2 separate regions of the Homo sapiens genome follow, and region 1 is linked to region 2. The links are contacts of gene promoters, found by promoter capture Hi-C in human tissues and cell types (Jung and others, 2019). All regions are on one chromosome and are shown on one strand. The core of a region is centred on a gene start or on the middle of the fragment in contact, and the rest is flanking DNA. Distances in the headings are between cores, read along the strand shown. Region 1 overlaps DHX32 (DEAH-box helicase 32 (putative)). Region 2 holds the start of ADAM12 (ADAM metallopeptidase domain 12).

What was found. The method cuts DNA at HindIII sites, captures the fragments that hold promoters and counts their contacts. A contact is called where the count stands out against the background at its distance.
Region 1: a contact is called between a fragment that was not itself captured here and the fragment with the promoter of ADAM12 in region 2, in 2 of the 25 tissues and cell types used here (H1 embryonic stem cells and dorsolateral prefrontal cortex).

The regions. Positions count from the first base shown.
Region 1 is chr10:125,870,085-125,873,454 of GRCh38, reverse strand. The region is part of intron 1 of DHX32 (DEAH-box helicase 32 (putative)); the gene reads left to right. Among named protein-coding and RNA genes, the nearest start is that of DHX32, 9.5 kb to the left of the region's middle. The HindIII fragment of the contact is 3,346 bases long and covers 191-3,370 here.
Region 2 is chr10:126,387,102-126,390,633 of GRCh38, reverse strand. ADAM12 (ADAM metallopeptidase domain 12) reads left to right here and starts at 2,157. Exons shown (of 23, transcript NM_001288973.2): 1 at 2,157-2,576. The coding sequence starts at 2,489. The HindIII fragment of the contact is 8,947 bases long and covers 629-3,532 here.

The sequences.
Region 1 (3,370 bases), core at 614-3,113, 520 kb after region 2:
GAGAAGAAAGCAGAAGAGGACTCAGGCCCTGATGGACGTCCTGATGATCAAAAGTGAGGGATTAGAGGCCTTTGGGACTAGTATGTGTCTAACAGAACAGTAATAGCATTGTGTCTCATGGAGGTCCTTTTTTTCTCACTTCATTTATTCTCATTTAACTATATTAAATTATAGTTAACTAACTTTATTATCCATTAGATGAGGTGAAACAATCACTGGCAGTAGATGGAAAGGACAGAAAGTTCTACACCAGTGTAGCTCATGTGGAGGTCCTCTTGCCACAGTGGCAGTGATGAGACCATACACGGATACGTGATGCCGCTGCTGCTCCCTTGATTCTGATCTGGATCTGGTTGCAGATTCTTATAGGAGATCTCCCTGCAGCCCACCCTAAAGACCCCAGGCCCCAGCTCTCCCACTACCCAGCAGCCCAACCTCTGTGTGCTGCCCGGAGTTGGGAATGGAGCATCTTTGCCTCACTGTCTGAATTTGTACAAGTTGTAGAACTGCAGTTGCTAACTTAGGTTGATAAAGCCTTGATTTAGATTAGATTTTGATTACCCGGAGGACTCCTCTTACCTACTCTCATAGCAGCAGATTGGCCAGAGTGTTGGTGATTTCCTTTCAGGTAGGCGGTAAGAGGCCAGGGATGCACATTCTCATGCCTCGATTGCTTACCTTGCATGCCCCAGAGTCAGTTCCAGCTGGGCTTTGGGACAGAGCATAGGGCAGGCCCCACTGCTCTGGCTTTATGCAAATGGCACATCAGAAGTACAGAAAACTGAATTTAGAAAATGGATTGAGAAACATGAAAAAAGTATTTGGTGAGTTCAGAATAAAGAGATGTGAAGTATTGATTTCTAGTTAGGGAGCATTTCCAGACCAAATGCGTAAATCCAAGGGTTGCACATCACCAAACTCCCAGGATAAATCACATGAAAATAGCTTTTTTTATGTGTTAGAGGAGCAATTTTCTGTTTCTTCACCATATTGTGCAACTTTTGCTAAGTACTCAGTCACAAAGTGACCCAGAATTCAATGTTTCTCTGAAAAAAGTTAAAGCCAAATGATTCATAGAAAGGTACAACTATTTAAGCTTTTCTAATTCCCATAGTGCCAACTTGGCAACTAGTCCATCCAGAATAATGTTTTTTAATACTAGGGGGGAATATCTTCCAAAGAGGAACTATGGGGTAGAAACAAAACCTCTAACAGGCTTGTAAGTCATTGGTGAGAAGACAAAGATGCAACTGGGACAATGAAAAAGTTGCTAAGTAGTACCCAGAAAAGTTAGGCCAGGTGTTGTGGCTCACACCTGTAATCCCAGCACTTTGGGAGGCCGAGGCGGGCGGATCACCTGAGGTTGGGAATTGGAGACCAGCCTGACCAGCATGGAGAAACCTCGTCTCTACTAAAAATACAAAATTAGCCAGGTGTGCTGGTGCGTGCCTGTAATCCCAGCTACTTGGGACGCTGAGGCAGGAGAATTGCTTGAACCCGGGAGGCGGAGGTTGCAGTGAGCCAAGATCCTGCCATTGCACTCCAGCCTGGGCAACAAGAGTGAGACTCCATCTCAAAAAAAAAAAAAAAAAGAAAAGAAGCAGAACTAGGGGAAGAAAGGTCAATACCAACAAGAGATACAATATTTACTATAAATGCAGAGAAGGCAAGAGTTCTTTGTAAAGCTGCAATCTCAGTATCCCTTGAAATGTGAAATACTCAAATTATCGACATTTGCCAAATGATAACATTTTTTAGCCAGTAATTCAAGTTTGCTAAGGAATCAACCCTCAGTATGTTACTTAGCTTGCCCAGAGTGATTCAGAAGGCATGTAAAACTGGAGAACTCTAACAAATAAGGCAGATGGTTTCATGTTTCCCTCTTTTCTGGCTGGAGATAACCTTTTCAGTTTGTGTTTGCATTGCTTACTGTTAACTATCTCCAAGTAGCTGTTACTGGAAGGGGAGCTGCATCCTATGTGGTCAGAGCCACAGTTGAGTACGTGCAGTATAATTTGTTGTGACTTCTGCTCAACTATTAACTTGGGCACGTAAGCAAACATTCCTACATTAAGCACGATATGGATATGTTCAGTCTTCTACTGGTTATTGTAACTGATATTTAGATGGCCTTTTCCCATTTCTGAATTAATGTCTTTGCCTCATAGGTGAAATAGTTTGCTCTAATGTAGAGGAAGGCAGAAAAGGAAAATGAAGACTGTTGGATTGGTATATTTGTTGTACTTCCAGGAATGTATAATGTTTATACTATTATCAACACACTGTAATAAACTAATCTTGCAGAATGTGTTTCATGAGCAAAGAGAAATAAATTAAATGCAGTTTTTAAAAAAGGCCCAAATCAGAAGCTTGAGAACATGGCTCATGATCATTGGAATCTTGTCGAATTTTAGAGTTCGAAAGCAGCTGTCCTGGACCTTATATGAATAACCAGGCTGAACGTGTCCAAATGTTTTAATAAAACTGGATAGTATTATTTCAGCAACGATTCTAGCTATGTAAAGCAGTGCCCACTGTCATCATAGTACTGTCCCCCTGATGTTGCCATTAGGCTAGAAAGAGTAGTTTATTTATTTATTTTTATTTTTTATTTTTTTGAGACAGAGTCTCGCTCTGTTGCCCAGGCTGGAGTGCAGTGGTGTGATCTCAGCTCACTGCAACCTGCGCCTCCCGGGTTCAAGTGATTTTCCTGCCTCAGCCTCCCGAGTAGCTGGGATTACAGGCACCCACCACCACGCCTGGCTAATTTTTGTATTTTTAATAGAGATGGGGTTTCGTCACGTTGGCCAGGTTAGCCTCAAACTCCTGACCTCTCAAATAATCCACCCGCCTTGGCCTCCCAAAGTGCTGAGATTACAGATGTGAGCCACCGCACCCAGCCTAGAAAGAGTAATTTAAAATGCTGATTGCCTGAGAATTTCATGGCTTCAGTTGCCACCTTTCTATAAAGATGCTTAGAAGCAACTGTGATGTAGTGGCAATTATACTCGCCAAGAAACTAGAAGATATGGATTGGTTCTGGTCATGCTGTTTACTGGCAGTATGACCTTGGACAAGTCACGCCTCTAAGTTTCTTTCCTCATGCATCAAATGAGGGTGTTGGCCTTCATGTCTTCCAGAGATTTCTTTCAGTACTGAAATTCTGCAACTACCATGCCTATCTCTAGCTCTGACCTCTCCCTTAGCCTCCTGCCTTGCTTTTCCGTTGATCCCAGGATGGTTATGCCTGGATGTTCTTCTGATAACATTGACCATCTTCCTGACTATCCTGAAGGTCATCTTCCTACCCTCCTAACTCCTGATTCCCCCCAAAAGAACTTTATGCTGCTCTTTAGCTTCATTCATTTAT
Region 2 (3,532 bases), core at 908-3,407:
TTTGTATTTTACCTTCACTTAACAGCTGCTAAAACTGAAGGTTGGAACTCAGCCTTAAAGAAACAGGCTTTATCTTTAACAGATCTGAGGTTGGGCTCTGACCTACTTCACTGTGTGGTGGTGGGAAAGCTACATCTCTATGCTGCAGTTTCCTCATCTGTATATTCAGGACTTAAAAAATGAAATAATGCAGGTGAAAGACGTTAGCACAATACTCCGATTATACGAGGTATGTAATGAATTATGAAGTAGTAAATAGTCTGTTTTCGTGCTGCTGATAAAGACATACACAAGACTGGGTAAAATTATACAGGAAAAACGTTTAATGGACCTACATTTCCACATGGCTAGGGCAGAAGACATGAAGGGGCAAGTCATGTCTTACATGGATGGTAGCAGGCAGAAAGTGAGAGAGAGCTTGTGGAGGGGAACTCCTCTTTTTAAAACCATCAGATCTTTTGAGACTTATCCACTACCATGAGAACAGCACAGGAAAGACCTGCCCCCATGATTCAATTACCTCCCACCAGGTCCCTCCCACAACACATGGGAATTCAAGATGAGATTTGGGTGGGGACACAGCCAAACCATATCAGTAAACAAGCCTAATCATTATTAACTAGGTTAAGTAACTAGCTCACACTGTCCAATAATGATGATTTATCAGTTTGATCAGAAAGAAAAGTCTTTGAAGGCAAGAGGCTTTCTCGTTTAGTTTCCCAAGTTCTAACATAGGGTTGCTCATGTAGATTGACTGAATGAATGAACAAAAGAAGTACACTGCAACGCTGGTTGGTAGTACGGTTAGATATGACACAGGGCTTGAACCAGGCCTGGTTTCCAGATCTGGTACTGAGATATGGCAGCATTGGGAAGGGGGCTGGAGAGCCTGTGCTTCCCACTAAGGTTTTTTAAAAAGAAAGTCCTGCACCTTGTTAGGAGGATCGACCTGGGTTTTGGGAACACTGCAAAACCTGCCGTGGGAGGGAACTCCTGAGAAAACTCCTCTGCAGTGGGAAGAGATGGTATGGAAGGCAGCTTCCTCAAATGCTGGATAACCGCCTCCTAGGAGTGGGTGCTCCGTCAGGAATCGGTGCGAGGTCGCAGGACCAGGATGGAATTTCTGCAGGTGGTCCTAGGTCTGAGCAGCACAGTAGAATCACCTGAGGCTTTGAAAACTATTGAGCTCCACGCATTGTGGGAAACTGAGTTAACTGGTGTCTGGGGCTGGCAATGTCTTTAACTCTTACTATTCTAATAAGTCCCCAAGGTTGGGAATCATGGTAACCCGCAGGGTGGGCATCAGCCATCCTCCATAGCTCCAGCCATTTCTGTCTGTGCGGGCCCCCTCGCTGCTGCTTTTCATGGTCTCCCTGAGGGCCGAGCGAGGCTGAAGAGGTGGGGTCAGCCCGGAACAAGGATGAGAAGGCAAGGCGCACCATTCTTTCATTGGTGTTTCTCCAAACACCCTGGGCTCCCCTGGCCTCACAGCCTGGAGAGTCTCATTCTGAAAGCGTAGGAGGGCGCCCGGGAATCTTTTTAACAAGCCAACCCAGGTGCTTCTTACAATCAGGAAAGTTTGGGGAACGTCACTGTACACCCTTTTCTGGGTCCAGGTCATGGAATGGAAACGTGAGCCAATCTATCAACGTAAAACCTAACACTGTTGATCAAAAGTAACGCCCAGGTGTCTTGTGCCTGCGAGTCCAAGCTTGTTTCTCGGGCGAGAGATGCCCCTTTGGGCGCTTAGGGCCGGGCGGGGTCGCGCGCCGGGCTGTGGGCCGCGGTGGAGACCTGACCCGCACTCCGAGGGTTCCCAGAGAGCCGGGGAGCGAGTAGCAGAGTCATCGTTTCCAGCTTCAGCCTGAAAAGCTGGACCGTGCCGCCGCATGTGCGCTTGGCAGCCGGGCGCCCCGGGCCCTGCGGCCACATCATCCTGGGGCGGGGACGTGTGCGCTCCGGGCGCCCGGACGCCACTGAGCCACGTCTGAGCCGCCCACCCTCGGGGGTGAGCGAGCCGCGGCTCGGGGCGGGACCCTGGCGGGGGGACCCGAGCGGTCTCTAGGACCCGCGGGACGCCGCCAACTGGCGGGGGTGCGGGGGAGACAATAATTTGTTCCGCGGTAATAAGAACGGTGACTGCTGGCCGTGGATCCATTTCACAGGCCTGCCTTCTCTCACTAACGCTCTTCCTAGTCCCCGGGCCAACTCGGACAGTTTGCTCATTTATTGCAACGGTCAAGGCTGGCTTGTGCCAGAACGGCGCGCGCGCGCGCACGCACGCACACACACGGGGGGAAACTTTTTTAAAAATGAAAGGCTAGAAGAGCTCAGCGGCGGCGCGGGCGCTGCGCGAGGGCTCCGGAGCTGACTCGCCGAGGCAGGAAATCCCTCCGGTCGCGACGCCCGGCCCCGGCTCGGCGCCCGCGTGGGATGGTGCAGCGCTCGCCGCCGGGCCCGAGAGCTGCTGCACTGAAGGCCGGCGACGATGGCAGCGCGCCCGCTGCCCGTGTCCCCCGCCCGCGCCCTCCTGCTCGCCCTGGCCGGTGCTCTGCTCGCGCCCTGCGAGGCCCGAGGTAAGTCGCCGAACTAGGGCGGCTCGCTGCCCGCCCCGCCGAGGGCACCGCACGCTGCGCCTGGGCGCGCCGAGGTCCAGGGCTGCCCCGAGGGGCGACGCGCCCCGGCGCATCTCCGGAGCCCCGGGGCTTGCGCTTCCAGCGCGGCGAGACCGACCCCCCCCCCCCAGGTGCCAATTCCTTGGGGAAGGGCGACACTTGGCCCGCAGCCCCACAGGAGCCAGTACCTGCCCCGGAGGGCACAGCCTCGGGACCGCTCCCCCGTCCTCACCCTCTTGGGTGACATTTGCAGATGTCTCTGTATCTTGACATTTACACGTGTCACTCGGGACGATGCGTGTCGGGTCCTCTTGCTGGCCCTATCCCGCAGTGAATATCCCCACCCCAGGCTCCGGGCCAGCCCTTCACCAGGTTTCCTTTCCAGCCCCGCCTCCCCCGCTAACACACTTAGGGGGGCGCGCAGCGGCCCCGCAGGTGAGGCAGCCCCCTCCTCCGCAGGTGTGCCTGCTGCTCTCCACAGCAGGCTCTATTTTCATAAACTGACTCTCTTACCTACTTCTTTAGTTTCCTCTCTGCCCCTCTTCCTGGCTTCCAGGTCACTCCCTAGCTGTCAGTCGCAGGCAAACTTTAGCGGAATTCTCCCTCCTTCCTCCACTCAGTTTCTCCGCCGTAAATAATCGCCCCCATCAACTTGGTGCACAGCGAGAACTTACTTAGTTTAACGTACTTAGTTTTACAGACTTAGGTTTTCCCGAGTTGTAGCCCCTTAAAATCGGGCACCTGTGGCTCCCGTTTGCACAGTGAGGACTCACCCAGCAGGTGCCTTTTTAAAAATCCGGCAACTTCCCCGGGTCTCCGCCGCCGCCGCCTTCTTTCTGCCGCCCGGGGCGCTGTCGGTCCACCGATGAACGACTTCCCTTGGCCGCAAGCTCTCAAGTTCTGTGATTCTATATAAC